Regions from separate parts of the Homo sapiens genome. Here region 1 is linked to region 2. Evidence: promoter capture Hi-C in 16 types of primary human blood cells and fetal thymus (Javierre and others, 2016). All regions are on one chromosome and are shown on one strand. Each heading gives the region's core, a stretch centred on a gene start or on the middle of the fragment in contact. The rest is flanking DNA. Distances are from core to core; before and after follow the strand shown.

Region 1 (6,374 bases), core at 3,352-5,851, 190 kb before region 2:
TCTGGAAGGGACAAGTCATGCCTTGGGCCTAGAATACCCTGATGAGAAAAGAGAAGAGGAAGGGAGGCCATATCTACAACACAGCCTCTCGGCACTGCTGCTCCTTATTTTAACTTTGTCTTGCATTGTCCTGTATTTATCACAGTTTCTGTTGAACAGCTTTTCAAGTATTTGGGGAGTTTATCTTGCCATCCTCCCCTTCTGGTTCTCTGCACCCACCTGTCCCACTGCAGTTCCTTCCGTGCTCTGTGACTTTAAGAGAAGAAGGGGGGAGGGGTCCCGGATTTTATGTTTGTTTGTTTTTTCTCCTTAGCAGTAGGACTTGATATTTTCAATTTTGGAAGAACTAAAAGATGAATAAACTGGGTTTTTTTTGTTGTTTGTTTTTGTAAATTCACCTGTGACCGTTCATTTTCAGTTCTTGAAAGCAAGCCTGCTTCCTGCCTGGTAAAGTGCTAAGGTACTGGAGAAAAATGCCTTTAGCTAGCTAGTTTTACAAATGAAACTTTCATCATTCTAAACTTTCATCATTAGATTGAGAGACACTAGACATCACAGTAAACCAAATTCATGTTATAGCAAGCTAACTTTATAAGAGACTTTTTACTATGGTTCCCTCAGAGACTTTTAGATTGGAATAGCACTTGTTCCTTCATGAAAACAAATCTTCAGTCATCTCCTTGTAAATAGCATGGAGGACAGCAGCTGCTTGAAGGGAAACCTTCAGCCTTCCTATTGGGGTAGCCAGATCTTCAGGGCTAACAACTGTTGGGAAAGGGAAAAAAACAGCATCACTCAGTTGAACACTTTGATACTTGGTATTTGTCAGGTTAGGTACTGGGGATGCTAAATGAATGAAATTACCCATTTCATAAGAGGACTCAATCTAGTGAAGGAGAAAGGAAAATGGTATAGTGTATAGGTGCTATATAATAAATGGAAGCACAAGTTGCTTTGGGGACATAACGAGGCATCTGCACCAGAATGGACAAATTGGAAAGGATTTCTGGAGAAATCACCAGAAAAGTCTTAAGTGGATTTTCCCTGTGCACATACAAATGGCATGGAGGTCAGGAAGAACATAGCATGTTTAGGAATGGGGATAGGAGTGAGTTGGAAAATAGCCCACAAAGATAACGTCACTTGCCTTATGCCAGGCACTACCCTAAGCCCCTTAATCCCTTATTTAAGTGCTTCCTTAATCTTCACAACTCAGTAAGATAGAGACTGCTGTTATTCCCGTTTTATAGATGAGGAAAAAGACTAAGGATCACAGTTGGAAAGATACTAGAGGAATATAATTAGAATCTTATCTAACATTTGAACTTTGTAAACCTTAGGGTCTGAGGAGTATTCCTCAAAAAATGTTTATAATGATCAGTAAGAATAATTTTATACCATGATTCATTAAACAATACATAAAACAAGTTTCACAAGACAATATGTGCTATGTACTCTTAATTCCTGTTTTCTTTTTTTTTTTTTTTTTTTTGGAGACAGAGTCTTGTTCTGTCACCCAGGCTGGAGTGCGGTGACTTGATCTCAGCTCACTGCAACCTCCGCCTCCCGGGTTCAAGCAATTCTGCCTCATCCTTCCGAGTAGCTGGGATTACAGGTGTCCGCCGCCATGCCTGGCTAATTTTTTTTGTATTTTTAGTAGAGATGGGGTTTCACCATATTGGCCAGGCTGGTCTCGAACTCCTGACCTCAGGTGATCCGCCCATCTCGGCATCCCAAAGTGCTGGGATTACAGGCATGAGCCACCTCGCCTGGCCTTTAATTCCTGTTTTCTTTCCCACAGTTTTGGTTTGCATTTTTCAAATTTCCTTGTGATTTACTAATTCAGTTTCACATCCACTAATGGGGTGTGTGTCTGGAAGTTTGAAAAACATTGATCTAGTGGATAATCTTAAGTGTCTGAAGGTCCTAGCAGATAAGATAGGTGACATCCCAGCTATGTAAGGTAATGGGAACAGTGAAGACTGGACAGCGCAGTCCCAACTAAAGGTACTCAAATACAAATGTTTTTAAAACATGCTGATCTATAGCAAACTGTAAAAGGATTTAAGAAGAAGGCAGTGATCAAATGTATTATGTATTTACTATAGTAGATGGAAATGGGGTAGAAGAAACCGGTGGCAGGAAGACCAGTTTAGAAATTATATGGCTGGGCGCGGTGGCTCACGCCTGTAATCCCAGCACTTTGGGAGGCTGAGTGGAGGGCGAATCACATGAGGTTGGGAGTTCGAGACCAGCCTGACCAACATGAAGAAACCCCATCTCTACTAAATATACAAAATTAGCTGGGCGTGGTGGTTCATGCCTGTAATCCCAGCTACTAGGGAGGCTGAGGCAGGAAAATCGCTTGATTAAGAAAGAGGCAGAGGTTGTGGTGAGCTGAGATCGGTCCATTGCACTCCAGCCTGGGCAACAAGAGCAAGACTCCATCTCAAAAAAAAAAAAAAAAAAGAAAGAAATTATAGTAATTATATTTAAGGAGGCCGGGCGCAGTGGTTTATGCCTGTAATGCCAACACTTTGGGAGGCAAAAGAGGGTGGATTGCTTGAGTCCAAGAGTTCGAGACCAGCCTGGGCAACATGGTGAAAGCCCGTCTCTACTAAAAATACAAAAATTAGCTGGCGTGGTGGCAGGTGCCTGTAGTCCCAGCTACCCAGGAGGTTGAGGCAGGAGAATCGCTTTAACCTGGGAGGTGGAGGTTGCAGTGAGCCGAGATCACACCACTGCACTCCAGCCTGGGCAACAGAGAGAGACTCTGTCTCAAAAAAAAAAAAAAAAAAAATTGTAGTAAGGAGAGCATAGTCAATTCACAAGTAGAATGGATAAGACTTAATGACCAGTGAATGTGAGGAAAGAGGAGACAGTTAATGTCTTTTTAAGAGACAAGATGGGCCAGGTGCAGTGGCTCACACCTGCAATCCCAGCACTTTGGGAGGCCAAGGCAAGCAGATCACTTGAGGTCAGGAGTTCGAGACCAGTCTGGCCAACATGGTAAAACACGGTCTCTACTAAAAATACAAAAATTAGCCAGGCATGGTGGCACACCATGGAAGCTGAGGCAGGAAGCTGAGGCAGGAGAACAGCTGGAACCTGGGAGGCAGAGGTTGCAGTGAGCTGAGATCACACCACTGCACTCCAGCCTGGGCGACAGAGTGAGGCTCCATCTCAAAAAAAAAAAAAAAAAAAAGACTGGATGCATGATAACATAAAGAATGGGCATCAGCTGCCTATACGAAAATGCTCAAGAGAGGTCCAAAATTCTGATGTATAAATTTGAAATGAAAATAACTTGTCTTTTTAAAAATCTCCTTTTCAAACATTGTAGATTCAAAATCAATTCTAGTTGTAATCAGGTATATGGGGGTAAAAATACACAACTGACTACTTTAATGTTGGATCCAGAAATAAATACAGTTGTAGGGATAAGATTTCAATCCACTTTGTGTCTTATCAACTTCATAGTAATAATTATGTATTGAAGATAAAATATATTCACTATTAGGATGATTTCCTTGGAAATAATTAGAACTGAAAAAAAAATGACTCACTGTCTAGCTCTTGCTCTAGAATATCTCTTCCTGACTCCAGGATCTGCCACAGTTGAAGATATGCATATCCCACTTCTTCACATTCTTTCTTTTCTTCATCCAGAGGATCACTTACCACTGTAAACTTTAAACTAAAAAGAAATTGCATTTAATTCAGCACTGTTGATACTCTTAATGCTTCAAAAATAAAATAAGGATAAAAGTAATCATAAACAATACAACGTCTTCTCTGAATCACTTTTCCCTTGCCTCCATTTTACAAAATGACAATAAGCAAAAAAGTCAGGAATTGGTATAATTTAAGCAGTAACAGTCCTTTTAGAAGAGGGAACATCATGGGATGTGCCCATGAGTTCAAGACCAGCCTGGGTAACATAGGAACACCCCGTCTCTACAAAAAAAATAAAAAATTAGCCGGGCATGGTGGCACACACCTATAGTCCCAGCTACTTGGAAGGCTGAGGTGAGATCACTTGAGCCCAGGAGGTCGAGGATGCAGTGGGCTGTGTTCATGCCACTGCACTTCAACCTGGGTGACAGAACGAGACCCAGTCTCTAAAAGAAAAAAGAAAAAGAAACCCTGTACTGATTAAGCAGTCACTCCCCATTCTCCTTCCCTAGCTCCTGAACCACTAATCTACTTTCTATCTCTCTGGATTTGCCTATTCTTGATTTTTCATATTTTTATTAATTTTTAAAAGCAAATATTGGTAGCTAATACAGAGTGCCAGGAATAGGACTAAAAATTCAAGCTTTTAAAAGCACAGCTAAATATGATTAAACTGAAACAAAGGAATTACTTTAAAGGGATCCATTCTCAGCCCATTAGGCAATATTCATTTGTAACTATGTTTCTATGTCATTATTGAGAACTTCAACAATGCGAAGTGATAATGCTGACTCCCTCATCCCAATTTGCATAGGAAAGGGATGATAACTAGCATTACAATGTGCCGGGCACAATACCAAGTGCTTTATGTAAACTATATTAGCTCAATTTTATTCTCACAAGAGCCTTCAAATTAAGTAATATCAAAAAGATCAAAGAGCTAGTAAGTCAAAGAGTCTGGAATAAAAACAAGGTTGGTCTGATTACAAAGCCTGCTCTGTCTGCTAGACCATACTGGCAAAAAGAAAGCCAAAGGTAATACCAATCGAATCTAAAATTGAGTAGAAAATGATTATCACTGTAAGGGAATAAAGGAAGAGAGAGTTCTGGAAATGCTGGGGAAAAAAAAGTGAAAGCTAAATTTGACATTAGCACAGAAAGGAAAGAACCAAATCACTTTCCATGTCCAAAAGTTCTCTGTAAGCTTACATCTGTTTAAGCCCACAGTGATGCTGAAGTCAGAGTCACTGTTTATTTCATCTGGCTCCTTTTTCAGTTCTTTCTATGACTAACCAAAGACAAAGTAAAAGCAGATGAAACAAAAGTATTGGGCCTTTCAAAAAGTAATTAAAACACCAGGTCGGGCACAGTGGCTCATGCCTATAATCCCAGCACTTTGGGAGGCAGGGCAGGAGGACTGCTTCAGCCCAGGAGCTGAAAGACCAGCTGGGCAACATAGTGAGATCCTGTCTCTAAAACAAACAAACAAAAAAATTAAAAATAAGATAAAACACCAGCCCCATATTATTTCTTATGCACACACATGCACAGGCGGTATGGATAACAGATTTCAAAAACAAAAACCATATGCCTATTTAAATTTGAATTTCAGCTAAACAACAAATAACTTTTTTTTTTCCTTAGAGGCAGAGTCTGCTTTGTCACCCAGGTTGGAGTGCAGTGGCACAATCTTAGCTCACTGCAACCTCCGCCTCCCAAATTCAAATGATTCTCATGCCTCAGCCTCCTGAGTAGCTAGAATTACCAGCATGTGCCACCATGCCTAGCTGATTTTTTTGTGTTTTTAGTAGAGATGGGGTTTCACCATGTCGGCCAGGCTGGTCTCAAACTCCTGGCCTCAAGTGATCTGCCCGCCTCAGCCTCCCAAAGTGCTGGGATTACAGATGTGAGCCACTGCACCCGACCAAATAATTTTTTTTTGGGTATGTCCCACATTTTATCTGGAAACTCTGAAAGGAGGCCTTCTTCAGATTATTGGAATAATAAGGACAACCAGCTTTCCTAAAACTTTAAAGGAGATCTAAAATTCACTTAGTTATGTCAACATCAAAAAATTCCTGTTGACCAGGTGTGGTCACTCACGCCTGTAATCCCAACACTTTGGGAGTCTGAGGCAGAAGGATCACCTGGGGTTGGGATCAGCCTGGCCAACATGGCAAAACCCTGTCTCTACTAAAAATACAAAAATTAGCCAGGCAAGTGGCGTGCACCTGTCATCCCAGCTACTTGGGAGGCTCAGGCAGAAGAATCGCTTGAACCCAGGAGGTGGAGGTTGCAGTGAGCCAAGATTGTACCACTGCACTCCAGCCTGGACAACAGAGTGAGACACTGTCTCAAAAAAAAGAAGAATGTCAACACTTTTTGTTATTCCATTTGGGCATTGTCAATATTCAAGTAAACTGCTGCTACAAAAAAAGGGCCCATCAGGCTGGCATGGGTGAGAAATGAACTAAACCTATAAGACTATGGGCTGGACACGGTGGCTCACGCCTGTAATCCCAGCACTCTGGGAGGCCGAGGAGGGCAGATCGCTTGAGCGCAGGAGTTCAAGACCAGACATGAGCAACACGGCAAAACCCTATCTCTACTACAAACACAAAAAATTAGCCAGGCATGGTGGCACATGCCTATAACCCTAGCTACTTGGGAGGCAGAGGCACAAGAATCCCTTGAGCCTG
Region 2 (5,739 bases), core at 1,709-4,208:
CTCTGATCCCCAGACTCAGTCTATGAATGCAGAGTCTGGCTTTGTCTTTGCTGTGTTTCCATGGAAGACTTGTGTTCTGACCCCTACAGCAACAGCTCTGACATCAAGCCAGGTGCTTTGCTGGAATTACATGGTTTGCTGAAGGACATCTGAAGCTACTTTGAAGGAAGAAATGCTCTGGTGTTAGATTATCATCAGGTAGTAACCCAGATTTCCGGAAATGGTTAACCACAGATAGGTCTTCTGGAGGGAAGAGCATGTCCAGGATGACCATCCTACCCACAGGCTGATTTCCCAGGACACGGACAAATCCAGCAAGCTAGGAAGAGATACGTATATGTGGCTCAGGAAGATCTGTTTGCTCCTGCAAGTACCCCATGGTTTAGTGTTTCTCAGAGTGAGGTTCAGAGACCTCCTGTCTCAGTCAGAATCACCAGACTTTGGGGCCAAGCTATAGACCTATTGGATCAAATTTTCTGTGGGTTGGGACCTGGAATCTGCACATGTAACAAGCTTCTCCTGTGAACCTTGGGCAAGGCAGCTTACTGTTTAAGAACCATTGTTTGGGATCACTGTTGCTCAGGGAATCTCACTGGCTGCTTTTCTTGGCTGCCTGCCCTTCATATCCACATGTGCTCTCACTGTGCTATCCCAGGGATGGGGGCAATGAGTCGGGTATAAACAGAGCTTCTTTCCTATGCCTCCCTCATCCACAGGCCCCAGGCATTTGCTCTCACTCTTATGCACTCCACTCCATAATCCACTCCCATATGATAAGATCATCTTTAAGTTTTCCTCCTACATTTCATTCACAGGTACAAACAATAGCCAATAGAAATAGTGGTAATTCCAGCATCCTTTGAACAACTGTCAGAGATGCCAATTTCTCCATAATCCTTTCCTTGAGTCACTCTATATTCTTAAGAATTTTGAATTTAGTGCAGATTGGTGAAGAGAGATGAAAGAGGAGAGGGGAGCAGAAGAGAGAGTGTGGGTTTAAAGTAAATGATAAATCTGGAGGCTCTGATCAGCTATCCACTGTATTACCCACCACCCTACCCCATCCCATCCCACCACTCCACCCCAGTGTATGCTTCCTGCCTCATCCATACTGTCTGGAGCATTGCACATATTTCTATTTTTCTCTTCTTTTGTTCTTTTAATCAGAGAGATACTTGCAGACCTATTACCTAAATTGAAACAGCCCACCAAGGAAAGAAGATGGGAAGCTGGGTCTGAAAATTCTACTCCACTCCTAATGACCACCTTTCTATTTTCTTAAAGTGCCTGCAAGTTATTTCCACTCTGGGAGTTTTACAGTCATTTATCTGAATTCCTCTAATTTGCCTTGAAGTCGAATTGGCCTTTGTCACCAATGGCGCCAAAGACATTTGCAACCCAAATCTAGGACTGCCCACATTCTACAATAGTGAGATTTATTATAAAATGACAGCTGTTAGAGTAAGGATAGCTGAATGTTACATCTAAGTGACATGAAATAAGTCACAGAATTGCATTCCATGAGTTCTAAAAGCAGTTGCTAATGTTCTGTGTTCAAATTTGCACTTATATTTTGTGTCTCAATTTTATTAGGGCATGTTACCTCTTTGGGCATTTCTAAAAGCCTTTTTCTTGTCACCAGTCACAGTATTCTATCAACACAAATGGTGCCTCATTCCCTGCCTGACAACTAAATTTAGTTATACATATGTCCAGAATCTTCTCCTGCCCAGGTAGTTTGATGATTCTGGAAATTATGTCATTGGAATTCGTCAGAATGTTTGCTTGCTCAATCCAGCTCTTTCCTCTCCAAATTCTCCCAACACTTTTCACAGGTGTGTTATTCGCTTACTCTCCTCAGGGCAGGATGAGGCAGCTCACTTTTGCCCCTTTTTGTCCTACTCAGCCACATCTGTTAGCTTCAAAGTCTTTGTAACTGAGAGTCTTCACCCAAGAGCACAGGGTGCTTAACTGGCTCAGCACCCAGAGGTAACTTGGGAAGACACGTGGTAGAGGAGCCAATGGAACAGAGGAGAGTGTGGTGTTTAGGTGATGCATTCAAGCTTTGTTCACTCTCTAAATAGAAAAGGCATTTTCACAAAGACTCACTCACTTCGTTCCTTTCCTACTGGCCATAACATCCTCTGAGTCCAGGGTGATTTTGTTCTCTGGAAATGATGGGCAGCTTTATGGATGATGAGGAGACTCTCCCGTTGGTGGAGGCTCCCACATGCAGTCTTACACTACCTCCATCTCTCCACACTCTCAGCCCTTGTTACCTTAAGTATTCACATTATTGCCTGGGTAGTGCTGATTTCACAGGGCCAGTTTTATAGCTGACCCATCAGCCATCTACAGCCTCTCTGAAAGCCTGTTTAGTCACGCTTGCATAGCACGTGTGTCTCTGTCTATACTGTTAGGTGGTAGGTTGCTTGCTAAGCTTTGTTGTGGGTTCATCTCATTTATCATGTTTATTTAGGTTTTGGATCTATCTTCTTAGTGAGCATGCTCATAGCTAACCTTCTTTGAACTTCCTCAACGTGCTGGAATTTGTTCAACTTCTCTGCATGAAATAACTCATTGAATTTTTATAATAATCTTTATAGACAGTTGCTATTATCCCTATTTCACAGATGGAAAAATGGAAACTCAGAAAGGTAAAGTAACATTCCCAAGATTACACAGCTAGTTAATGGCAAAGTCCTAACTTTGAACCTTAGCAGTCTGATACCACAGTATGTGTGGCTTAAACACAAAATATACTGTCTGTAGAATATAAGCTTCCCAAGGTCAGGCACTCTTGAATTCCTGATAGGGAGAACACAGAGCTAAGCAAATGGAAAACTATGAATATATACTTGGTGAGTGACTGTTTCATTACTTAGAATTTTTAAGATCCCCAAGACCAATTGTAGATATTTCTCTTATATTTTCCATTGCTGCTTAAGTAATGCTTACCAACTAACCAACCAACCAAGGAGAAAAGATCCTCTCTATGACAGAGTTTCATCTGCAAAGCCAAATGCCCTCAATAAGACTCATCTTCAGAAGGCTGTCCTTAGGCAGAATTAAACCCAGTCAGAGCCCCAGGTGTTCAACCTCATTTATGGTGGTGCCTTCTTTCTCCATCGCAGAGCACTGGAGAAGGATGAAAGGGGCAAACCTGAGCCAAGGGATGGAGTTTGAGCTCTTGGGCCTCACCACTGACCCCCAGCTCCAGAGGCTGCTCTTCGTGGTGTTCCTGGGCATGTACACAGCCACTCTGCTGGGGAACCTGGTCATGTTCCTCCTGATCCATGTGAGTGCCACCCTGCACACACCCATGTACTCCCTCCTGAAGAGCCTCTCCTTCTTGGATTTCTGCTACTCCTCCACGGTTGTGCCCCAGACCCTGGTGAACTTCTTGGCCAAGAGGAAAGTGATCTCTTATTTTGGCTGCATGACTCAGATGTTCTTCTATGCGGGTTTTGCCACCAGTGAGTGCTATCTCATCGCTGCCATGGCCTATGACCGCTATGCCGCTATTTGTAACCCCCTGCTCTACTCAACCATCATGTCTCCTGAGGTCTGTGCCTCGCTGATTGTGGGCTCCTACAGTGCAGGATTCCTCAATTCTCTTATCCACACTGGCTGTATCTTTAGTCTGAAATTCTGCGGTGCTCATGTCGTCACTCACTTCTTCTGTGATGGGCCACCCATCCTGTCCTTGTCTTGTGTAGACACCTCACTGTGTGAGATCCTGCTCTTCATTTTTGCTGGTTTCAACCTTTTGAGCTGCACCCTCACCATCTTGATCTCCTACTTCTTAATTCTCAACACCATCCTGAAAATGAGCTCGGCCCAGGGCAGGTTTAAGGCATTTTCCACCTGTGCATCCCACCTCACTGCCATCTGCCTCTTCTTTGGCACAACACTTTTTATGTACCTGCGCCCCAGGTCCAGCTACTCCTTGACCCAGGACCGCACAGTTGCTGTCATCTACACAGTGGTGATCCCAGTGCTGAACCCCCTCATGTACTCTTTGAGAAACAAGGATGTGAAGAAAGCTTTAATAAAGGTTTGGGGTAGGAAAACAATGGAATGATTTCTCAATGCATTACCACATATCTTTAGAAAGTCAAGGGAACTTTTACCTTAGGTGGTGTCACCCTGAGCACATTCCCATGCCCACCCCTGTGAATATTGGGCATGCCCTCTGGTCTGCAGGTGCTTCTGCATCTACCTGCCACAGAAGAAATGATGGTGTCCTAGAGACTAAGAAGTGAGAAGGGTGTGTCTGCTTGTTGCATAATTCAACCTGTTGGCAAGATTTAGTAATCCATGTTGAGATGCTTCATTCATTTTTCCCAGTTAGTGTATTTCCTTTCCTTTCCCACCCTCCCTCCCTCCCTCCCCACCTCCCTTTCTTCCTTCCTTCCTTCCTTCTTTCCTTCTTTCCTTTCTCTCTCTCTCTGTCTCTCTCTCTCTCTCCACCCCCGAGGCTGGAGCACAGTGGCATGAACATTGCTCATTGCAGCCTCAACCTCCTGGCCTCAAGCGATCCTCCTGCCTCAGCCTCCTGAGTAGCTGGGACTACAGGTGCATGCCACCACACCTGGCTAAATTCCTGATAGGGAGAACACAGAGCTAAGCAAATGGAAAACTATGAATATATATTTGGTGAGTGACTGTTTCATTACTTAGAATTTTTAAGATCCCCAAGACCAAATTGTGGATATTGCTCTTATATTTTCCATTGCTGCTCAGGTAATGCTTGTCAGCTAACCAACCAGCCAACCAAGGAGAGAAGACCCTCTCTATGACAGAGTTTCATCTACAAAGCCAAATGCCCTAAATAAGACTCATCTTCAGAGGGCTATTTTTAATTTCTGTAGAGATGGGGTCTCCCTATGTTGCCCAGGCTGGTCTTGCACTCTTGAGCTCAAGTGATTCTCCCACCTTGGCCTCCCGAAGTGCTGGGTTTACAGGCATGAGCCACCATGCTGGCCTGTCATTCTTCTTCTTTTTCTTCTTCTTCTTTTTTTTTTTGAGGCAGAGTTTTGCTCTTGTTGCCCAGGTTGGAGTGCAATGGTGTGATCTCGGCTCACCACAACCTCTGCCTCCCAGGTTCAAGCGATTCTCCTGCCTCAGCCTCCCAAGTAGCTGGGACTACAGGTATGAGCCACCATGTCTGGCTAATTTTGTATTTTTAGTAGAGATGGGGTTTCTCCATGTTGGTCAGGCTGGTCTTGAACTCCTGACCTCAGGTGATCTGCCCACTTCGGCCTCCCAAAATGCAGGGATTACAGGCATGAGCCACCGCACTGGCTGTCTTCTTTTTAAATATAGGCATTTAAGACAAATTTTTTCAAATTCTATTTAGCCTGCATCCCATATGTTTTGAAATATGGTGTTTTTAGTATTAAGTTCTGTGTATATTCTAATTTTTATTATCATTTATTCTTTAATCCATGAGTGGATTTTTTTAAAATTTCCTAATATCTGGGCATTTATGAAAAATCTACACCCAACATTATACTTACTAGTGAAATAATGCTTTCCCCTTAAGATTTGAAGCAAGGCAAGTTTTCTGCTATTGCCATCTCTATTTAAAATTGTTCTGAAGATTGTAGCAAGTACATTAAAACAAACAAAGCATCTAGATTGGAAAGGGAGAAGAAAAATTGAGTTTATTTGTAGATAACATGATCCTGAATATAGAAAGTTCCAAGTAATCTATTAAAAAACTCCACTGGAACT

Evidence for each region. The method cuts DNA at HindIII sites, captures the fragments that hold promoters and counts their contacts. A CHiCAGO score of 5 or more calls a contact.
Region 1: a fragment that was not itself captured here is called in contact with the fragment with the promoter of OR5AU1 in region 2 in 1 of 17 cell types (activated CD4 T cells); the score reaches 5.1 in activated CD4 T cells.

Annotation. Positions count from the first base shown.
Region 1 is chr14:21,345,495-21,351,868 of GRCh38, reverse strand. It overlaps RPGRIP1 (RPGR interacting protein 1), which reads right to left. Exons shown (of 25, transcript NM_020366.4): 24 at 3,567-3,697; 25 at 568-765. The coding sequence ends at 653. SUPT16H (SPT16 homolog, facilitates chromatin remodeling subunit) reads left to right here. Exons shown (of 26, transcript NM_007192.4): 26 at 1-393. Among named protein-coding and RNA genes, the nearest start is that of SUPT16H, 35 kb to the left of the region's middle. RefSeq lists a silencer at 2,518-2,697. The HindIII fragment of the contact is 561 bases long and covers 4,321-4,881 here.
Region 2 is chr14:21,153,282-21,159,020 of GRCh38, reverse strand. It overlaps OR5AU1 (olfactory receptor family 5 subfamily AU member 1), which reads left to right and starts at 2,958. Exons shown (of 1, transcript NM_001004731.3): 1 at 2,958-4,156. The coding sequence starts at 3,149. The coding sequence ends at 4,084. The HindIII fragment of the contact is 1,266 bases long and covers 2,783-4,048 here.